Linked DNA regions of Homo sapiens: region 1 is linked to region 2. Evidence: promoter capture Hi-C in human tissues and cell types (Jung and others, 2019). All regions are on one chromosome and are shown on one strand. Each heading gives the region's core, a stretch centred on a gene start or on the middle of the fragment in contact. The rest is flanking DNA. Distances are from core to core; before and after follow the strand shown.

Region 1 (2,954 bases), core at 218-2,717, 140 kb after region 2:
TTGGGAGTTTTTCCATGACACTGGCTTGCCTTCGTTTAGGGAGAATTTTTTGCCTGTATAATGGCATTTAGCTGCAGTCAGAGTATTGTTTTTAGGAACATTTAGAAAGCTTAAACAATGCTAAATATAATTGGGAGTGGGGAGTAGTTAAATTATGCTTTTAAACCAGCCTTGTCTTCTTTTACAGTAACTTGAAGAGGTTTAGTAATTTTTTCACGTTTTGGACCGAGACCGAGTCTGGAAACAAACCCCATGTTTTCCATTATATGTTGACTGGGAGCACTGTAAAAGTTATGTGGAATATTAATTTCAGCCCCAATTTGTGCCAGCAAATCTCTGCCCCGAAGATTAATGGGGATGGGCATGATATAAGGCTGAATTGTTCCCTTTTGACCATCAGGGCCAGTGCAAGCCAAGATAAATGTGCTCTGGTGAACTTCTTCAGCTTTTCTAACACCTTCTAGTTTCATGTTAGTGGGATGTTTAAGCCAGGAGGAAGGCCATAAATTAGAGGAAATAATAGAAACATCAGCCCCAGTATCAACTAGGCCCTCAACCTTTTTTCCTTGAATGTGTATGGTGCAGGTAGGCCATTGTTTAGAAATTACATTAATCCAATAAGCGGCTTTTTCACCGCTGGAGCCCATCCCAGGGCCCCATGTCTTATCTCCTTTGTTTAAAACAATGTTAGGTAGTAAAAGTAATTGAGCAATTGACTCACTGGCCGGAATGGAAACAGGAACTTTGGCAGACACCATAAGTTTACATAAGTTTAATCTCATCAGAGGAATCAGAATTAATGAGACTAGTATGAACTATGATACCTTTAGTATCATGAGGTGGATGCCCTGCCTAACACCAGGCCCACCGAACCTTGAGGTAAAGGGCCAGTGACCCCCATGGGGACAATTAAAGGCAAAGAATTAGGTAGTAAATTTAGAGGAATGGTACTACAGAGATCGACCGCCCTGCTGCCTACTGTGGAGGTAGACAAGCATTGTACTGAGACAGAAGAAGAGGCTGGGACCCATCTGGATTGGCTGTAGGTAAATTTGTTTGTGCTGGGGGCTGCGTTGGGACTGCTTGACGCAAAAACACAACATTGGTCTGAGTCCGAGGTGTCCCATTTGATATTGGGGCCTGGGACTGGCCTTGCTTCCTGTTTCCCTGGTTCTGTGGCAAGGGATTTTCATCTATATCAGACTGAGTGGCAAGTACTTGCCCAATGTTTACCCTTACGACAACGCAGGCAAACAGTAGCAGGAGCATTTGGCCGTGTTTGTTGAGCCGGCTTGGCCGCTTTTAAGTTTTTAACAGTGTAGTTTTTTTGGGTATGACCAAGTTGGCCACAATTATAGCAGGCTCCAAGAAAAGAATCAGTCGAGCCAGTTTGGTTGCCGTGCTTCATGGCCGGTGCCCACAGAATAGCTCTGTGGGTCTCCGATCCAACGCCTTCACAAGCTTTAATATATGCAGGCAACACCTCATGATCAGGTAAATTTTGACGTAGGATGGAATGCACGGCCATTTTACACTCATGGTTCGCATTTTGAAAAGCTAACATATGAAGAAGAATACCTTGAGTGTGCTCATCAGAGACAGATTTTTCAACAGCATCTTGTAATTTAGCTAAAAAATCAAGATATAATTCATTGTGACCCTGTTTAACAATAGTAAAAGAAACAGAAGCTTGGCCTGGGGTGCGTAATTTATCCCAAGCTCTCATACACACCTTTGTTACTTGTTCCGTGGTGAGAGCATCAAAGCCTAAATGAGCAGTAGTATCAGAGTAATTATCGGAGCCTGTGAGCTGAGCCTGAGTAATTGGAATGCCATCAGCCCGATTTAGCTGAGCCTGCAGGCGGGCCTCCTCTGACCACCAGGTATGGAATTGTAAATGCTGAGATGGAGTTAGAACAGCTTTTGCCAAAAGGTCGCAGTCTATAGGAAGCAAAATGACCTCGGTACAAAGAGTCTGTAATACCGTTTTAACATATGGAGAAGTAGGAACATACTGAGTACAAGCATCCTTGAATTCTTTTAAAAAGGTAAGATTGAGCGGCGTATATCGACACACTTGTACCCCTTGAGCATTAGGAGGTTCCAGCATGACCGAATAAGCCCACGCCTCTAATCTACTTGTTTGTTTTGGCGTAATAAGCATTGCATGAAAGTTTCAAGAGCAGGCACATGAGATAGAGTCGGCATAGAAGTGACAGGAAAAGTATGTATAGATAAGAGAAACTGAGATTGACGGGGTCGGACTGGTATAAGAGTGTGAGAAAGGGGCATTGGGGGAGCAGAAGAGGCAGAAGCATACTGGTGATTACTGGCCCAGTCCTGCACAACCAGAGTGGCAGGGGTGTCCCTGCATGAAGAAGGGTACAGAGAAGCAGGTTGAGTGGATGGCAAAGTGACCGGTTGAGGGACCAAAATGATAGGAGGGTGAGGGGCTGTGGTGGATGGGGGAGGGCCTGCAGAATTACAGGTAAATTGTAGTTTGGATGGCTCCGGAGGCAAAGACTGTAAAGGTTTGGAGAGGGAAGAGTTAGCATAGATATGGTCCTGGGCTGTCTGAGTTGGGGCCGCAGGAGCTACAAGTGTCGGCTCTTCGTGAAAAGAAATAAGATCATCAGGGGGTGATGTTAAGCCAAAGTCACTGGAGTTAGATATTGAATCCTCAGTATCGTCAGGTGGGGGAGGAGTAGGCAAAGGGAGGGGCTGAGCAGATAATGAAGGCCGAGTGGGAGAGGAAAGCTGAGGAAGAGGTAGAGGGTGGCCAGATTCAGAAAACTGTGGTAACTGCAGGGTGTCACGGGATTGGTATGTCATTAGGATGGCACGTACCAAGGCCCAATCACCCCAAACAGTGACAGGAACATAATTTCCTGTTGGGACCAGTTCTCGGAATTTTGCACCAACATGATCCCATAGTTCCACATCTAACGTTCCCT
Region 2 (2,995 bases), core at 314-2,813:
ATGGGTGAAGATTTGAGTTTGGTTTGGATATGGCTACTTGGCGCCAAAGTAACACATGGAGATATGGAAGAGGTGGCCAGAAACACCAGGCTGGAAATCAGAAGAGAGGCCAGGGCTGGAGCTGTGAAGATGTCAAGGAAAGCTGGCATTAAAGTCAGGAGGCTGGGTGACATCACAAAGGAGAGGGCTACAACAAGAGAGTCTAAGACTGGGCAAGCCAGCCAGAAGCACATTTCCTACCCCAAGGTCACGGTGAGACTACAAAACAACCCCTGGGAAGTGCTCCACACAGCGCCTGGCCGCAAAGGGCTCAAAGGGGAGCTCTCTGCCCGTAGGCCTCCCCACTGCTCCAGCTGACCAAACACCGCATGCAAACCCTGCCTTGCCAACAGGACTATCGGACAGGAACGGGCTCACGGCAAGCTCCCCTGGACCCTTGGCACGGGGAGAAAACCCGTACACTTGGACAGCACCCTTCCTCCTAGCCCACTTGCTGTGTTGGCTAACAGAGGCACTGGCTGTGACGGGCCAGCACCAGTGCCAGCGCCATGGAGGCTGCCTTTTGGTCAAGTCTCTCCCGCTGCAGCCTCCCGCCCAACCCAGCGGCAGTATGACCTCATCCGTTCCTTTTGTCATCCTCCAACAGGCCTCATATCCCGCACTTAGAGGCAACACTGGGTACCCCGGGCTGGCCATTCACTCCCTTTTGTGAGTGAAGGCCTGCAGCAGGGTTTGGGCCACTCCCACAGCTGGGAGTCTAGTCTGGCCAGGAAACAGTGGATCCTCGCCTGGTGGTTGGCCTCGAACAGTCGACAGCCAAAGACAGGACTGCCGTGCAGGAACAAGGTACATGCAAGCATGCAAAAAGGCAAATCAGACTCCTGCCACAAGAAACCCAAGTCCATCGGTTGACACCAGACAGGCATCACTGTCAACAGGTTGCCACCTTCCATTTATTTCCGCCATGCTCATTGTTACAATAAAACCGTATCCCAATTATCTACGTGACACTCAACCCGTGAGCATTCTGTGGACAAAAAGACTTAGGCGACTTCTTGGATTTCCCAAACTGTGTTAAAGCCGGCAGGGTCCCAGGCGAGCACTGGCCCTGTCCACACCTTTCCCGCCTGAAGGCGATGCTAGGCTTCGGGCCCTCCGGGAGAGGAGCCTCTTTACCCGGGCGGACAGCGACGAGAGTCGGCAACGCCTGGGCCCGGGGCCCGCCCCCCAGCCCCGGAGGCGTCCCCACCCCGCGCTCTCCACCGCCCGCGGCCATGTTGCCTCACAAAGGCCGGGCTCCGCGCCCCCGCCCCGCCCGCGGCCTCGGTCCCGGAGGGAGGCGGGAGGGAAGGGCGCGCCCTCGCGCAGGCCGCGGCGCCCGCCCAACCGCCCGCGGGCGCCCCTCGCGCCCCGCACCTACCTGAGGCGCCCGCGGGCTGCCCAAGCCGCCCGCAGCCAAACCACAGCCGGGAAAGCCTCACCGACCGACCGCCGCAGCCATCTGGAAAGCCTGTCCAGGCTCTCCGGTCGCCGGCACCCGCCTGCCGCGCCGGGCGAGCGGAGGGCGGGCCTTCGCGGCGTGCGGCCAATCCCCGCGCGCGGCCGCCCCGCATTGGGGGAGCCGCAGAGCGCGCTGCGGAGGCCGCCAATCGGCGGCGCGTAGCGCGTGTGTCCGCCGCGCGCGGCCCAATAGCGCGGCCGCGCGGGAGGGACCAGGCGCCCAGGCCGCGGTCGCGCTAACAGTCGCTGCCCAGGCGGGGCTCGCTGGACTGAGGGCGGCGGCCGCGAGGAGCGCCGGGAACGGGAAGCACCGGGAATGCCGGGAGCAGGGGAGCGCGGGAAGCTCGGGGAGCGCGGGGAATGCCGGGAACAGGGAGCGCGGAGTACGCCGGGAGCGGACACGCAGACGGGCCACCTTCGGTGGACACTGCAGAAGAGACCGTGCACACACAGGCGTTACACAACCCTGTTAAAAGCATCACTGTATCAGACATCATCATTTATAAAGAACGCGTGTGCTCAACTGTCTGGCGCTGTCCCCTTTGCTAATACAGGATTTCCAAAACAGGGAGGGTTCGGCCGGGCACGGTGGTTCGGCCGGGCACGGTGGCTTGCGCCTGTAATCCCAGAGTTTTGGGAGGTCGAGTCAGGAGGATTACTTGAGCCCAGGAGTTCGAGACCAGCCTGGCTAACATAGTGAGAGCCCAGTATCTACAAATTTTCTTTCTTTTTTTTTTTTTTTTTGAGGCGGTGTCTCGCTTTGTCTCCCAGGCTGGGGTGCAGTGGCGCGATCTCAGCTCACTGCAACCTTTGCCTCCCGGATTCAAGCGATTCTCCTGGCTCACCCACCCGAGTAACTGGGATTACAGGCGCCCACCACCACGCCCGGCTAATTTTTATATTTTTGGTAGAGACGGGGTTTCACCATGTTGGCCAGGCTGGTATCAAACTCCTGGCCTCAATTGATCTGCCCGCCTCGGCCTCCCAAAGTGCTGGGATTACAGGCATGAGCCACCGCGCCGGGCCCAAAATTATTTTTAATTAGCCGCGTGGTGGCGGGCGCCTGTGGTCCGAGCTACTCGGGAGGCTGAGGTGGAAGGATCACCTGAGTCCAGGAGTTCCAGGCTGCAGTGATCCGAGATAGCACCACTTTCACTCTAGCCTGGGCGGCAGAGTGAGACTCCGTCTCAAAAAAAAAAAAAAAAAAAAGGAAAACGAGGGTCTGAGTAAGTGAGGGTACAGCTCTTCCTTAGACTAGCTTTCCTGTCAATAAATGTGGAAGGAATAGTGGAAATAGAAAAATTTTCCACTGGGTAGCCACCCCAATAATAGCTGCTGTAGACGAAAATCTTGAGTGATAAAAATAGTGGGCCGGGCCCTGTGGCTCACGCCTGTAACCCCAGTACTTTGGGAGGCCGAAGCAGGCGGATCACCTGAGCTCAAGAGTTCCACACCAGCTTGGGCAACGTGGCGAAACCTTATCTCTACTGAAAAT

What was found. The method cuts DNA at HindIII sites, captures the fragments that hold promoters and counts their contacts. A contact is called where the count stands out against the background at its distance.
Region 1: a contact is called between a fragment that was not itself captured here and the fragment with the promoter of DGCR8 in region 2, in 1 of the 25 tissues and cell types used here (dorsolateral prefrontal cortex).

What each region holds. Positions count from the first base shown.
Region 1 is chr22:19,936,071-19,939,024 of GRCh38, reverse strand. All of the region lies in intron 1 of TXNRD2 (thioredoxin reductase 2), which reads left to right. It overlaps LOC124905081 (endogenous retrovirus group K member 24 Gag polyprotein-like), which reads right to left. Exons shown (of 2, transcript XM_047441689.1): 2 at 1,036-2,954. The coding sequence starts at 2,164. The coding sequence ends at 1,199. Among named protein-coding and RNA genes, the nearest start is that of COMT, 4.2 kb to the left of the region's middle. The HindIII fragment of the contact is 4,369 bases long and covers 1-2,954 here.
Region 2 is chr22:20,078,809-20,081,803 of GRCh38, reverse strand. DGCR8 (DGCR8 microprocessor complex subunit) reads right to left here and starts at 1,563. Exons shown (of 14, transcript NM_022720.7): 1 at 1,421-1,563. RefSeq lists an enhancer at 745-804 and a silencer at 1,065-1,684. The HindIII fragment of the contact is 8,782 bases long and covers 1-2,995 here.